2 separate regions of the Homo sapiens genome follow, and region 1 is linked to region 2. The links are contacts of gene promoters, found by promoter capture Hi-C in blood cells and fetal thymus (Javierre and others, 2016). All regions are on one chromosome and are shown on one strand. The core of a region is centred on a gene start or on the middle of the fragment in contact, and the rest is flanking DNA. Distances in the headings are between cores, read along the strand shown.

Region 1 (7,841 bases), core at 882-3,381, 2.8 Mb before region 2:
TCTCCCTCACTCCCCACTCCTGATGCACAAATACCTCACTGCAAGATTCCCCACAGGTGGAATTGCTGGGCCTCAGTTGGATGCTTAGGCCCAAAGCGAAGGCCCTGCCAGGCGGTGCTCCCAGAGCTAATGTCCTGTGGCAGAGTAGGAAAGAGCTACAAGCCATTTAGGACAAACAAGTGCACCCTTTGATACTGAGGTTAGTCTTCAATAGAAATAAAGAGGGACATTAAAAAAAAAAAAAGGAAGAGGAAGAAACGAAATACTGGACCCACCCACCCCAGTCCTCCTACCGGGTTGCAGGAAGCCATCCTGGTGCCATCAGAGCCTGGGTGCAAACGGCCCACCAGAGCTGACCCTGCCAAGCTCTCAGTGACAGCAAAGGTGGCTGCTCTCAACAGCTTTCAGAGCAACTCCTCTGAGACCCTACTGCAGGCACACTCAGAATGTTTCAAGTGCCTTGGATTCTTAAAAAAAAAAAAGAGAGAGAGAGAGAGAAAGAAAAAGAAAGAAAGAAAGAAAGAAAAAAGAGTGGGGCGTGGAGGGTGGTGTTACTCTTGTTGGATTCCACATCTACTGAAAACTGAGTGGATCAATTATGGGTGATACCATGATGTTGGTGGCAAGTCTGGCTTCCCAGGCCAGAATCGCAGGGGTTTCAGGACCTGGATGCTGAGACCGAGAGGAGCAGTGGAGGCAGGGACACCCCATTCTGCATTAGGTGGCATAAGCTGCAGTCACTGAGGCCCTGGCCCCGGGGTCCTGTGTCCTAGGCCAACGTGGTGGTGGTGAGGGGGCTGGGAGGGGTATATTGCGGTAGGGATGCTGAAAGACCTTGACCTGACTGCCCTCTCCTTTCTGAGAGCTAAAGAATGTGGTGGGGATTCTTCCAAAGCCGGGAGAAGGCAAGACTAGTGTGTGCTAGTGGGTGCAGCTGGGCTGCAGAGGGAGGGAATTCCTGCCGACTACAGGGAGCCCTCTGTGCTTGTCTCTCTCCCCCGCCCTCAGCCCTCTTCCCCTTTCATTGAATGCCTGAAGTCAGAGCCTACCTGGAAACCCTCAAAATTTTACACTCCACTTGTCCGAGGTTTCCAATGATGACAAATTTGAAAAACGCTTCGGCTGAAGCCCGGCACCTAAGGCTGAGAGTTGGGGGGAGGGGAGGCTGTTGGATAAAAGCTCCTTGGAAAAGACACACTTGCCTCCCCCTTTTTCGCCACGCGGAAACTGGCCGGTCTGGACAAGGGATTGCGCTGGGCTAAGGCCTCGGGCTGGGGAGAGCTCCAGCAGCCTGAAAGCCGAATCCGCAGAAGTTATCCACCTGGCTCCTTAGCCACCGGCCAACAAGAGGGCTCTGGGCGTCCCGCCCTTCACGCCTGTATTAGAAAGGCCTGAGTCTGGCCGGGAGACCTGACTTGAGGTCTCTTGGGAGGAGCAGGGGGTGCCAGTTCTGCAGGGGACTTGCCCAGTTCCAGTGAGGCTGATGTAGAAAACAATAGCTCTGTCCTCAGCCTGGGCGGCCAGCCGGGGCCGCACGTGTAAGATGTGATTCTATCTGAGTTTCCAAATCTAAGTGCATTGATTGAGGCCCAAAGAGTTCACGGCGCATAACTGTCTTAATTAAACCTGCTATAAACAGACAAATCACTTCTTGTTCTTGTAAATAGAGCTTGGGGAGATGGCACAGGGTCTGGCAAAAGCCAGGCTTGGGGAACATTCTTAAAAAAGGAAAAGAGTACTGAGACACAGACAGAAAAAGAATAAAACTGGAGTATCCACATCTTCAGAAAATAGCTCAACTGAAACCAAAATATGCCATAGCAGGGAAGTAATGTGAGACACCCTAAGTTCCCAGAGCAGCTCAGTGGAGGCTGGTAGCCCAGGATGGGACCAATGGTGGAAAAGCAGGGAGCCGGAGAGACCACAGGTTGTTTGGGGGAGGACAGGTGCCCATTGCTGAGGCTCTGAGCTACTCTACTTGGCCCTGCACTTTCCTTGCCAATCCTTCCATCTTTCCCTGCCACTGATCTCAACTTCCTGATACTGAGAGACAGTGCTGGGAGGACAAGTACTCTCTCAACTTGGTCAGCTTGGGGGACAAGGGCTGGTCACCAAGAGCTCAGAGATAGCAACAACTGGGGATGATGGGTGATCATAGGAGTCCAGCGGGAGCAGATGGGAAGAAAAGTTGTCTGTGATCCTCTGGGAAAGCAGAAAATGGGGAGTATGTACACCCACAGCTCAGATTCTGCTGTCCCTAAGTGCCGGCAAGGGCTGGGGGATGATCTTGAGTAGGGTCAGGTGCTCCAGTGCCCCAGCTGTTGGGTGTCCAGAAGAGGTTAGGTGTGTGGTAGCTCTGGGAAGAATGCGCGAGACGTCCTTCACTTGGAATGTGCAAAGGGCCGGGTCTGTCTCCAAGTAACTCCGGGTCTCCGGAAGTTACCTGGCAGGGGCAGCCCTCAGCAGACTTTGGGTCTTACAGCATAAAACGAGACGAACTAAGGGGAGCCCACCACTTTTCTAGCTAAAAGTGGAAAGGAAAAGTTGTCTATAATATGTAAATACAGGAGATATGAGTGCACAGGTTTGGGTGGGTTCCTGGTAACTTCTGGAGCCGACTTTTCCCTGGTCTTGGTTTGCAAACTTTAATTCCCATTTCTTTTCCTTTACTATTTAGCATATGACTCTAACAATAATCTGATTCAGAAATACTCTTCATTTCGTTAGGCTAACATTGATAAGGAATTTAAGTTCAGGTAAATTTTAGCACAACACTTTTCTAAAAAGTAACTTTAAAAGTGTTTTTAACTTCCACACAACAAAAACGAAAAAAGTATATATCACTATGGTTGGAGAGAAACATTCTTAGATTGCCTTTATATTTCAGAGACTTTGTATAGGTGCCAGCAACTCCGCAGACACTAACAAATGGGTTATTTGCAGTTATTGTTCATGAAAGGTCTTTTATATTTTTAAATTACGGCATGGTTCCCAGGTGGAAAAATTCCTTACAATTAAGAACTGGTTTTCAAGAAGATTGGAAAACCAGAACAAAAATTACAACGTTTTATCATATAGAAGTCTTTACTGAAAACAACGGATATTGAGTGGAAGTCAGAATGTAATGAAAGTTAATTAAAATGCAAACTATTAGGGAAACACTGCAGATGTCTTTCTGTCATATCCAACGGGACAGTCTTTAGATATTCCACCCTCCCTTATATTATACTTGTATTGTGAGACTTGAATGGTTGTCAACAGTTTTCTGTTGACAGAAATAACAACAGTTCACCTTTGAAAACTCTTCACTCAAAGCTACAATGATGATTGCTCTCGAGACAAGGACTGCTGAAACAAATAACTTTCACACATCTACACTCACACTTGCACACCCCAAACGCACACGCAATTGCCGGTTTTTGAAAACGTTGCCTCTGAATGAGAAAGAGAGAGAGAGAGAGAGACTGAGAAAGTCGAACTCGAGCTTAGGTAACCAACAAACCCAATTACTAGGCTTTATTGATACTAAAAGGAAAAGTTCCCCTCGTAAAATTTCTCTGAGCTTATTAGTTATTTAAATCAGCCCCAGGGTTGGACGCGTGACGCCGAAGGCACCTTCTGTCGGCTCCTGGAGGTGAGCAGCCAGCGTCCCTGCGCCGACCCACAGCCCCTCGCTCCGTCCTGGGCACTTGGGGCGAAGGCGGGCGCAGCGAGCCGAGGTGAGCCACTGGGCAGGGGCGCAGGGCCCGACACGCCGGGAGAGAGCTCCGCGTGGCCTAGGGTAGGACACCGGGCATCACACTTTGGAAAGGAACAGGTCCCAGCCAATAATAAGGGAGTAGGCGAGTAGGCCACGCGACCGCGGGGCGCAGGAGCTCAGCCGGCCCGCTGCCTGGCTCGCCAGACCCCGGCCCGCTGGGCACCGGCCCCTGCGACCCGGCCGGAGCGCTGGTGTTCGCGCCGTGAGTCGGGCGCGGGGCGTCTCAGACCTCCAGGGCTCGCTAGTGTTTTGTGTGGGTCTGGGAGCTTTGCAATTGGGTGGGCACCAGGTGAATTTACACCTTTCTGGGTCGCTGTCTCAATAGTTGACAAGTCCCTCTGTGTGTGTGTGTGTGTGTGTGCGCGCGCGCGCGTGGAAATGGTGGTGGGGGTGTATGTGAACAGCTGAATTTATTGAAAATAAACCCCAACCCGCCCAGTGAAGTCCTCTAAGCCCGACACGGGGTTCCCAAGTCCGGATGTGGCTCCGGGACCGCGCGAGGCGATGCCCTGTTCCTCTGGGCTTGGCTGTAGGGCGGGGAGGGAAGGCACCACGGGGTGGGGGAGAACTGAGCCCGAGTCGCCGCCGTCACAGTCACTTGGGCCTTTCCCGGAGGCCAAGGTCTTGACGGACTGAAACGGTGTCCGAGGGGATTCGTGATACCGAGAAAACAGGCGAGGCGCCAGCTCGGGAAGCCCTCTAAGTTGGCCCCCACTCCTTACGAGTTTGGGCCGCCGGATACACTGCCCCCCTCGTCCCTGGCTCCAGTAGGTGTCTGGGACCGTGGGTCCCGCAGCGGGCTTTTTCGCCCTCTCCGCTTGGTTCAAGACCGGCGTGGGCCCATAGCCTCAAAGCGTTCGGGAGGCAACTGCGGTTTGGGCCCCCTTGCACCCGGCTGCCTGAGCTTGCCTGCCCCTACGAGGGGTGGGAGCGGATTTCTGGACGCCTGCTGGCCTGCCTGAAATTTGGGGTGCGGACCGGGTGCTATCTTGGGCTTTCCAGGTGTACTTTTCATTTCAAGGGGTTGGGACAAACTGTGGGCGTTCGTATTTTGCACGCGCCAGGGCGTTTTTGTGTTGAGTGGCCCGGTGGTACCCTGGGCCAGGGACCTGCCCATCCCCCGCCACATCCTTAACCCGTGGACTGCAGGCGACGCGGAAGGGTTGGCTCCGGGACGCGACCGGCAGAGCCGGCGCCGAAGGTTTCGGCCTCAGCCCACGCGGTGGCGCTGTCGGGAGAGGACGCTGGGGCTCCGGGCCGGGACCCGGGCAGTGACCCGGGCTCGAGGGTGGCGGGACATTGACGCCAAGCCGAGGCCTCGGGGCTCTTCGCAGCCACCTTGGGCCTGAGATCCTCTGCCTCACTCGGTGTTTCCCTAAGGAAAACGCGGCGGGTCGGGAGCGCCACCCGGGGCCCCAACCCCGGCAGCTCCGAGCTGGGGGCGGGGACGCAGCGGCGGCTCCTTCGGCGCTTCCTTTTCTTCCCCCACCCTTGCCTTGTTGTCCCGGTTTACAGTCGATTTCTACAAGTAAACTAGATTAGCAGGGCAGTCATTCTCTCGCAGCGTGGTTGCAGAAGGGGACCCACCTATTAAGTTCTGGGCTCTGCAAAAGAATGAAGGGCGCCCCGGGGGGCGTTGCCTGGTGTGGTAGGGTGGTGCTCCAGGCCGCAGGACCCTCCGTCTTCCCCGGTCCCCCGGCCCGCGGCCGCCGAAGGGACACCAGATCTCCCACCAACGACTCCCCCAGCTCTGAAACCTATCTCCTCGCTTTCTTCCCCCAGGGCAGGCAGTGCCCACACCCGACGCCCATCTCCTACCCCGGGAAGCCCAGTGCAGAAAGCTCCCCGTCCTCGCCTGAGGCAGCTCCTGGGCCGACCTTGGCAATTCCCTTCCCGCCCACCCGGCTCCTGAACGGTCGGCCCCACTAGCCCCAGACCCTCGGGCCTCTGGGGTGCTAGGCTCACCGCCTAGCGCAGACTCGTTGCCCACCATCCTTCCCCATCAGTCGTCCCTCTGAGGCGTATCTCTCTGCTCGGGCCGCAGGGGCTCATTCGCTTGGGGCCGGGAGGAGGACCTCCACAGTCTCTACCTCCGGCGGCCGACGGCTTCCTTCCCTCTCCGCCCCCGCCCAGACCCCCTGAGCTGCCGGGGGAGCCAGGAGTCATTTATCTTTGCCTGGCGCGGGTTGGGATTTGTCCGGCTCTGATGCCAACGAGGAAGGCGTGCGGATAACGAAGTAAGTGTCCCCCGCCCTGCGCTCCGGTCAGTCCCCAGACGCCCGGAGCACTCTGGGAAAGGGCTGAAGCCCACCCTGGGCGAACCGTCCTCCAAGGCGCGTCCCCCACTGGGGTATTCTGGCCCCTGGCTCTTGTCCTCTTGGCGCATCTGATTTCCAGTCTAAGCCCCTCGCGGTTATGCCGTCCGAGAAAGTGTTGGTCGCCAACTCTCCACGGACAGTCCGCGGCGGAAATTGGCTTCAGAGCTGGCGTGGGCTTCATTTGAAAGAAATGATTCCCTCCCGCCCTCCTCCCGCCCCCAGGAGGGCAAGCTCCAGGGGAAGAGGCAGGCCCGCTTGGGTTCCTAGAAGCCGTCGAAAGCTTTTGACGCGGGCGATTCCCATAGTTTTCCCTGCGTGTTCCAGGGTTGAGGGAAAACGCGGCGCAACTTTCCAGGGCTCTTTAAAAGGCAGGGTCTCTCTGCCTGGGTGACCGAACTTGAAAGCCATGGACCTTGGGGATGGATGCCGGGCCCTCAGAGCCCGGGATGGCCCAGGCGAGAGCCGAAGTCCCGCGCCCGGCACCCTGCACCCTCCACCCAGGCGCCCAGGCCTACGCTGTCCGGAGCGGGCCTCTAGGAAGGAAGGTTGACCAGGGTCGAAAGCACGCACAACAAAAACTTGGTGTCGACAAAGAGAAATCAAGAAACGTCATTAGAGTGCAGGCCATAAAAGAAGGCCTGACAGAGAGAAAAGGAGAGAAGATGGAAATAAGAAAAACCATACACCTTTAACACTAGCATATAAAGATCTATTGATTTTTAAAATAACAAATCCGTGTTTGTGAAAAACAGGCGGCCTTTTACTAAATTACATAAGGAAAACTTGGGAGGTGGGTGAAGAAAAGGGGAAAAGTCTGAGCAGATTCCCGACAAAAACGTCAGTTAGAAGGAAACTGAGGGATAAAAATGTCCCCCAGATGTGAACTCCATGTTTTGAGCATGGAAGCAAACTATCTCCTAATGCACAAAATGGGTTTTAGATAAAAGTATTTTTAAAAATCAAACGTAATTAAAACAACTCTTTTCTCGTGATTTTGTTTTAAAAAGTTTGGAAATAAACCTTTTGAGGGATACAAAACGAAACCAAACAAATATTCTTGAATCATCAGCAAATTTATTCATTTACTGTTTTAAACAATACAAAATTCTAGCGAAAGGTAAAACTATTAAAATATATCTTATTGTCGAAATTAAACCTGCTGGAAATAATCGCTTCAGTTGAAATAAGGTCAATACAAAAATTGTGCAGTAAAAAGCGTATGTAATTTGAAACAAAAAAGGCCTTTATTAGAGACAAAACTCGAGAGGACAAAAACCCACACCGGACATAGATCACAAAACTTCCTAGAACTCTCCTTTAAATCGGAAGAAATTTGTAAAATGTGATATGAAATACAACTCTACAAACATCCAAAATACATTTCTGGTCATAATTAATCGTATTTGACATTTTCCTCTAAGTTTAATGCAACTTTAAATAATTTAGGCTTTTTCCTAACATGATAGATTTTTTTCAGTATCAGAAATGGACAAGAGGAAACTCCAGTAAAGAGAAAAGCAATGAATTTAAAAGGGTGCAGAATCTGAAAACAAACTAACCACAATGTACATTTAATTGTACTTAATTGTATATTTCATTTAAATAGTCCTTCTCAGGGGTTTAATAATTTAGAATCAATAGTTCCCTTCAAAACATAATAAAATATTTACACTTTATAAAATATTAACCGATTAACAATACAGCCGTGTTGTTTATAAGAGTGTAACTGAAGTCCTGCAAATCATGCTGTTGACACAAGCCTG
Region 2 (7,814 bases), core at 4,461-6,960:
ATATCAGGAATACACCTTTGTACCCACTTCCTATGTCATCAGGTATCTCCCTGACCCTTACCTTCCTGGAAGTGAAAGGGGGGTCCACCTCATGTTCAAGTTGCTGAAGGTGGTCCTGGGACCCAGGGCAAGAATTCATGAAGTGGGAGGACTGGTGGCAGGATTTAAGGGAGCAAGAATCATGGTGGGGCTGAGCTTGCTATACCCGCTGAGGATGTTTCTTCATCCTGAAATAGCTCTCCAATTCACTTTGTATCTTCTTCCCACAGGTTCCAGAAAATGGCCTATTTTTTTCTTTTTCGAGGCAGAGTCTTGCTCTGTCACCTAAGCTGGACTGAAATGGAGCGATCTTGGCTCACTGCAACCTCCACCTCCTAAGTTCAAGCAATCCTCCCACCTCAGCCTCTCGGGTAGCTGAGATTACAGTTATGTGCCACCATGCCCGGCTAATTTTTTTTTTTTTTGTATTTTTAGTAGAGACGGGGTTTCACCATGTTGGCCAGGCTGGTCTCAAACTCCTGACCTCAAGTGATCTGCCAGCCTCAGTCTCCCAAAGTGCTGGCATTACAGGCATGAGCCATCACGCCCAGCCTATTTTTCTTTTTACTCTTACTATGGTGTTTCTGACCAGAATTTTTCTTTCATGCCCTACTGTGAAACTTTTTTTGACACAAGCTTTTTGCATTCTTTAGATTTGTTGTTAAGTCAGCTTAAGGACATGGGGTGAAAGAAGCTCCCTTCTATTAATTAACTTTCATTTTTTTCAGTTCATTCCTGAAGGAAAGACAAAGACATGCAGATATTGATGCAGTCTCTGGACACGCAAAATATTCGAAGTGGGGCTCCTCTACATTTCTGGGAAAAAAAAAACTGATGTGGAGACTCCTGGTAATGTTACCACATGAGCCAGTATAGTATTCCTCAAGTAGTAAACGAAAGAGCCTCTGAGTAAGCCCGTCGGGCTGGATCAGCTGCCATAAACCAGGGCTGCAGTTGGTGGAGCCACCAACAGCACTGGGTGGGGAAAAAATGGAGGGGTAACAATGGAGAAACACCTCCATTCTATTTTCTGTCACCTGCTGTCCAGCTACTGACCTAGAGATAAATCATGCCAAAGATGGGGAGAAAACCTAGGGAAAGGGTGGCTAATAGGGTGTGCGCAGACACAGCTCCTTTGTCCTCTCTCCAAAAGAAGCAGAAAAGCTCATGACCCCAGCCTCGCCTCAGCAGGCACACTCATGTGATATATTCTGGCCAAAGAGACTTTGGGCAGAAGTTTGCAAAAGGGCTCCTAGGCAGACTTTTGTTTTTCTAGATTAAAAAAAGAGTAATGATGGCACCTGTCTTTTCCTACCCCCTTACAATTCCCAGAGCGTTCCATCAGTCAGGTATGCAGCAGCTCACTCTCAAATATAAACGAAGAGCCAAGGATCACCAGTGTCTGATAAACACAAGGAAAAGACAGAGAACCTCAGACTATGTTGACACTTGGGCAAAACCAGTAATCTTCAAACTCTGCTTATGTGAGATAAAAAACTTTTTTTTGTTTGTTTTAGTCACTTTCTTCTACATATAGTAGGCCCAGGCATTAGCTGGTGGAAAAACAAGTAGAAGGAAGAAGTAAAAATGACAAGCAGTGCTGGAGAGGGGAAGGGAGAACAATTTCTGTGGCAATTTATTAGACCCAGGTAGCTGGTTATAATATAGAGTCTTGTCTATGTTCATTTATATCAGAAGCCAAGCACATAATACTAATACTCATATTGCAAAAGTCTGTCTTTGGAAAAAAATGGAAATGGAGAAGCTCCCCCACATATTTTGAATAGGATGCAGATTCCCAACTAAAATTTTTTCATGTAATTGTTCAAATGTTTAGTTTTGTTGATATTTCCCTAAGGAACCTATGATCTGTATTAAATGCTTACATTGGCTCTCCAGGACATGTGTACATTCAGCCATGAAAACAAAACAGCAAATCATTTAAATTGCTTCACTTGTTTTAAAAAAAAGAAGGTCCAACATGTCGCGGTAGGAATTTGGTTTGCATCCACACTGAGTGCCACCCGACCCTGCTCTACACTGAAGCTTCTCAGGCTTCCATAGAGAAAATATACTTTCAAAAAGGAGCAACCAACTTGGCCCAGCCTCTGAGGGGAAGGAGGTTTATAGAAAATTCACCCTAAGAAGGGGGAGATTGAGGTGACTCGGACACTGATTGATGGTTGGCAGGGCACAAAGCTTTTGAGTGAAATACATGGTGTTGTCCTTAAAATATCCTCTTAGTCAATCGCTGAGAATCCTGTTCAGGTCATCAAAGTTGCTGAAACAAAAATTAAATAAGCCAATCTAGCCTTTGGGGATTTACTAAAAACAGATCTCATGGCCAGGCACAGTGGCTCATGCCTGTAGTCCCAGCATTTTTGAAAGGCCTATGTGGGAGGATCACTTGAGGCCAGGAGTTCCAGACCAGCCTGGCCCACATGGCAGGACCCTATTCTCTTCCAAAAATTTTTAAAAATGAGCTGGGCATGGTGGCCTGTGCCTGTAGCCCTAGCTACTTGGGAGGCTGACGCAGGAGGATCACTTGAGCCCAGGAGGTAGAGGCTGCAGTGAGCTATGATTGTGCCACTGCACCCCAGCCTGGGTGACAAAGCAAGACCTTGTCTCTAAAAAAAAATAAAAAATGAAAACAAGTCTCAGGGTTAGTTAAAAACCTTCCCTCCCAACCACCACCTCCACTTCCCGCCATGGGAAAACAAAAACAAAAACCAAACAATGCCAAGGTCAGGAGAGTCCTTGGAAGCAAGGGAGGGGGCGGTAATGGCTGAGTAGCAAGAGGACAGCCTTAAAGCCACCAGGCAGAGTCCCCGAGTATCTGGGAGGCTGTTAAAGTATGAGATAAGAACTTTCAATCCAGTAAATTAATCTACCAAGTTGGGGCTTAAAGTTAGAGAGAGATTCTCATTTTCACTGCAGTTGCTCATACCCTTGCCTGTCCTCCCCATCTGGTAGGCCCAAAGCAGTGGTAGCAGAAATGCCACCCACACCCCTACATACATAAATACACGCACACTCTCCAATGGCCACTTGGCAGATCCTCATAAGTCATAGTTCTATGGCTCATAGTCTAAGAAGCACAGTCTTACATGAAAACAATCTACCTCTAATGGCTGACATTCTAGCAAAGAGACAACAGCTTTAACATATCTGTGCTTTGTTGTGTTTGAAAAGGAGCAAATATTGATTGCTGCCTTGAACCTAAGTCCTAACGCTTGATAGTAACAATAATAAAAATACTGAGATATAAACTTTTATTTTTAAAAAAGTTCATTCATAACTAATTTCTATGCATATATTATTATCAAACTAACAGAATTCTGTCTTGATGTTTAGGGAGAATATTTCCAAAGAGCTTCTAGGCAGGTAACCTTATGGAAAGCATGGCAAGAAAAAGACCAATGTCACAAGTAATATACTAGTAAAAACCAGATGACTTTGAAAAGAGAACACATGCTTCTGTGGACACAGGCTCCATTCCTACACCTGGCAATAGGTGTACACTGGCAAAAGCGTATACAAGTACATGCTGTTGGTTCCAAAATAACAGTCCAGGGAGTCAATGTTGTTTATCACAACCACTAGAAAATAATATGGTAACACTGTCTTCATTCACTCACACATCTAACAAATATTTCCTGAACATTTACCATGAGCCACACACTGTTATAGGCAATGAGGCGGGGGGCAGGGGTTGGGTAGAACAGTACGAACAAAACTCCCTGCCTTCGTGGAGCTTATATTCCAGCTGAAGAAGACAGACACTAAGTAAAATACATAGTTTGTTTATTGGTGATAAGTGCAAAGGAGGAAAATGAAATAGGAAAGAACATGGTATGGAGGCTACAGGGCAGATTTTCATTTTAAACAGGGTGGTCAAAGAAGGCCTCATAACATTTGAGCAAAGACCTGTTATATAGATATCAGAGGGCAGAAAGGCCCAGAAGACGGAAACAGCAAGTGCAAAGGCCTGAAGTTAGAAGGTCTGATGAGTCCGCACATAATAAAGAGGTGGGTTTGGCTGGAGAGGAAGGAGTAACACAGAGAACATTGAGAGATGAGGTCAGACGGTAATAATAAAACCAGAATACGGCTGGGCGCGGTGGCTCACGCCTGTAATCCCAGCACTTTGGAAGGCCGAGGCGGGCAGATCAAGAGGTCAGGAGATCGAGACCATCCTGGCTAACACGGCGAAACCCCGTCTCACTAAAAATACAAAAATAAAAATAAAAAAAAAATTAGCCGGGCGTGGTGGCGTGCTCCTGTAGTTTCAGCTACTCGGATGGCTGAGGCAGGAGAATGGTGTGAACCCAGGAGGCGGAGCTTGCAGTGAGCTGAGACTGCTGCACTCCAGCCTGGGCGACAGAGCGAGACTCCGTTTCAAAAAAACAAAAAACAGAATACACAGAGCCTTGAAGGCCATTGTAGAAGTCTGGCTTTTGCTGTCAGTGATTCTCAGAGTCACTGGAGGTCTATAGCTGAGGAATGCTATCCAACTTTCCTTTTAACTGGATCATTTTGACTCCCTCCCACTCCAAATGGTGGAAGAACAAAAGCAGAAGTAGAGATGCTGCTGGCCAGAACCAAGGTGACAGCAGCGGTATTCCTACTGTAAGAAGTGGTTAGTGGTTAGATATACTTGAAAGATAGCTTTTGCTGATGCATTAGATATGAGATATGAGGGAAAGGAAGAAGCCAAGATTACTACAGGGTTTTTGGCCTGGATGGTGCTATCACTGAGACAATGCAAACTTATTAAGGAAGAATCCGTTTTGTGGAAAAGATAAAGAGTAGTTTTTAAAATGTCAAATTTAAAACATGAAAGATACCAAATACATTATTGAATTTGTGGATCTGAAGTTTGGGGGTGAGGTGTGGACTGGAGACTAATTTCTGAAGAGCTCAAGAAAACCATAAGGCGGGATAACAGAGAACACAAAGGATTAAAGGACCTAGTCCTGAGCACGCCAAGATTAACAAATTAGAAGCATGTGTTGGGGGGCATTTAAGACGGACTAATACGAACTTCTCTAAAGTGGGGTTAAAAATAGACATTTTTCTATCTTTAGAGCCTAATACAGTGCCTGGGAAATTATAGGTGGTAAATAAACAGGAGAATACTTCGACAGGAATTTAACGAATGTCTATTCCGTTCTAGCAAGAGCGCCAGGTACTGCGGAAACCGTAAAGAACAAGTGCAAATTCCTGACACCTATATTCTGGTAAGCAAGCCAGGGAGGATTAACTGGTGGCAAAAATCAAACATTAACGCCGAAATAGCCTTCCCAGGAACCTATTAAACTCCAACTTAACACATAAATAAAGGTGGTATTGGGCTTATCTGGAGGCTTCGGTGGCTATCTCCCATCCCTCAGCTGGAGCCAGGCCAATGCAAACTTCGCTCCTAAATGGCTTTCACCGGCAGCCAACGCCAAAGCGCCTTAAATCAGGGCCCTGAGGTCCAGGGAGTGAGACTGGACTCCGTCAGGACAGGGAGAGGGCGCCAGGGAGTGGTGACTGTCCTTATCTGAGCCGAAGCCTCGCGAGCCTCCGACCACCCCTCACCAGCCCGGGGCCCGGCAGCCTCACCTTACAGTCCATCTGTCCGCCTGAGGCTCCGTACTGCAGCAGGCGAGCGGGTTTCCGTGGAACTAACACAGCATTTTAAACCAACCCGCTCCCCGGCGCAGTAGCTCCGGTACGCAGGCGCACCCGTGGCAGGGCATGTCGGGAACTGTAGTTTTCCCGGCCCAGGAGGGCCCTCAGCCCTGGGCGGGACCCAGGCCGGCATCCGGCGGCGCTCAGGGAATGCGTAGCGCCGTGAACCGAATGGCGGCAGGCTCCACTGTGCTCGCGAGCGGGGCACGCCGGGATATGTAGTTTCCGGCGCCTGCCCTCCGGGGGGTCCTGTGCTGCCCACTTCACAGTGACTTGTCTCCGCCTGGTGAACTCGCGGTGTTCTGCTAATCTTGGTAAATACATACCCTACAGCAGAGTAACGAGCATAAAAATTGGTTAAAAATTCAGAGCTTAAACATTCTTCTCGTTAAAGGAAAAATCAAGTCCCTCTTCGTCCTCGTCCATGATGGCCACATGGAGAGTAAAACACAGAAATCTGTTTTCAGGTCTTTCGTCTCTTCAGCATAAATTATTTCTTGCCCTGTCTACAAGTTAATAGGTATTTGTAAATCTGAGTGTAAGTAGCTATGAAACGGAAAAGAGCATTGAGCTGTCCCTGGTTTTTTTGGTGGTTTGCTTTTTTGAGATAGGGTCTTCCTCTGTCGCCAAGGGTGGATTACGGTGGTGCGATCTCGACTCACTGCAGCCTCGACCTCCCGAGCTCAAGCGATCCTCCCATCTCAGCCTCCCCAGTATCTGGGACCACAGGCGCGCGCCACCACGTCTGGCTAATTTTTGTATTTTTTCGTGGAGGCGGGGTCATCACCATATTGCTCAGGCTGGTCTCTTTGGGCTCGAGCCATCCGCCCACCTCGGCCTCCCAAAGTCCTGGGATTACAGGCGTGCATCACCACACCAGCGTTTCTGAGTTGTTTTGCTTTAAGAATATGTATTCTCACTTAAGGGAAAGCCTTCTATAGTGCAAAGACGCGGCTTTGCGTTTTGGTAGCTGGACAGAACACCTGTTATCCCTGCCAGGGCAATTAAAATGCATTTCTCTCTTCTCCCTGAGAGTGCAGCCAAGAATCACTTCAGCCCTCTCATATAAGCAATCAGATCCGAGATGAGAGCTCATTTACTTAGCCTGACAATTGATCTTGCTATTCTAATTCTTTTCATAGCGGAGCCTCAATGTGAGATGCAGAGACTGCCCATCAAACCACAGCCATATTCATCAAGCTTTGAGCCGATCCGGTGAAGAGAAATGAGCACTGCATACATTATTCAGAGAAAGGGACCAAATAAAGCTTTTAATAGGAAATGAAAATGTATTTTAAAGCGTCAGTGCAAACAGCCAATTATTTTCATTATGTATGTTTTATCTTGCAATGACCTCTGGTTTATCAGTGGAATTAAGAGATGAGTGATACATGTATCCACGTGTTTTTGTGTAATGAGAGTTTTCACCTTCTCCTCAAATCTCCATATTAAGCAGCAGTCAGGGAACCAAACTGATTAAATTCGTGTTTTTCATTTGTTTTCCCTTATTCACTGTCTGGCAAACCGTATAAGAACTTAAGCAATTACAGAGTTAGAGAAAAGGACCTGAAGTCTTCAATAAACTTGAAATCAGGGAGTATAGTCCTCCAACTTTGTCCTTTTTCAAATTTGTTTTGGCTGTTCCTTTAACTTTCTAGTTCCTTTACCTTTCTCCCAAATTTTTTGAATCAACTTGTTGATACCTACAAAAATTCTGCCAGGATTTTGATTGAAATAATGCCAAACATACCGATTTTCTTGCTGATTTCCCTCTTGATTTTCAGTTGATAAATAGTTCTCAGACATTACCCCATTTATCAAACAAGATCATTTCATTCACGGAAATCCTAGATATTCCATGAAGACCACATTCTGTTTCACTGCGATAACCTCCTAACTGGTTTTCCTATTACCCCTTCCAAAGTATCCTTCATATGGCTACCAGATCTTTTAAAAAAGTAAATCTGATTATCTCAGGTCTTTGCTTAAAAACATTTAATCGTTCCCCCATTGAACGAAAAGTTTTCCATTGAGCAGGATGAAGACCAAACTGGTAATAGCTTCAGCCAAACCCTCCAGCCTACTCTGCACCTAGTGCC

Evidence for each region. The method cuts DNA at HindIII sites, captures the fragments that hold promoters and counts their contacts. A CHiCAGO score of 5 or more calls a contact.
Region 1: a contact is called between a fragment that was not itself captured here and the fragment with the promoter of CCDC150 in region 2, in 1 of 17 cell types (non-activated CD4 T cells). The highest score is 6.6, in non-activated CD4 T cells.

The regions. Positions count from the first base shown.
Region 1 is chr2:199,460,714-199,468,554 of GRCh38, reverse strand. It overlaps SATB2-AS1 (SATB2 antisense RNA 1), which reads right to left and starts at 457. Exons shown (of 2, transcript NR_026830.1): 1 at 294-457. It also overlaps a transcript of SATB2 not described here. RefSeq lists an enhancer at 5,475-6,240. The HindIII fragment of the contact is 8,458 bases long and covers 1-6,360 here.
Region 2 is chr2:196,637,611-196,645,424 of GRCh38, reverse strand. It overlaps CCDC150 (coiled-coil domain containing 150), which reads right to left and starts at 5,710. Exons shown (of 28, transcript NM_001080539.2): 1 at 5,647-5,710. The coding sequence starts at 5,658. It overlaps LOC105373823 (a long non-coding RNA gene), which reads left to right and starts at 5,740. Exons shown (of 2, transcript XR_923747.3): 1 at 5,740-6,029; 2 at 6,858-6,997. RefSeq lists enhancers at 4,849-5,386, 5,387-5,924, 5,909-5,958, 5,979-6,198. The HindIII fragment of the contact is 4,677 bases long and covers 2,241-6,917 here.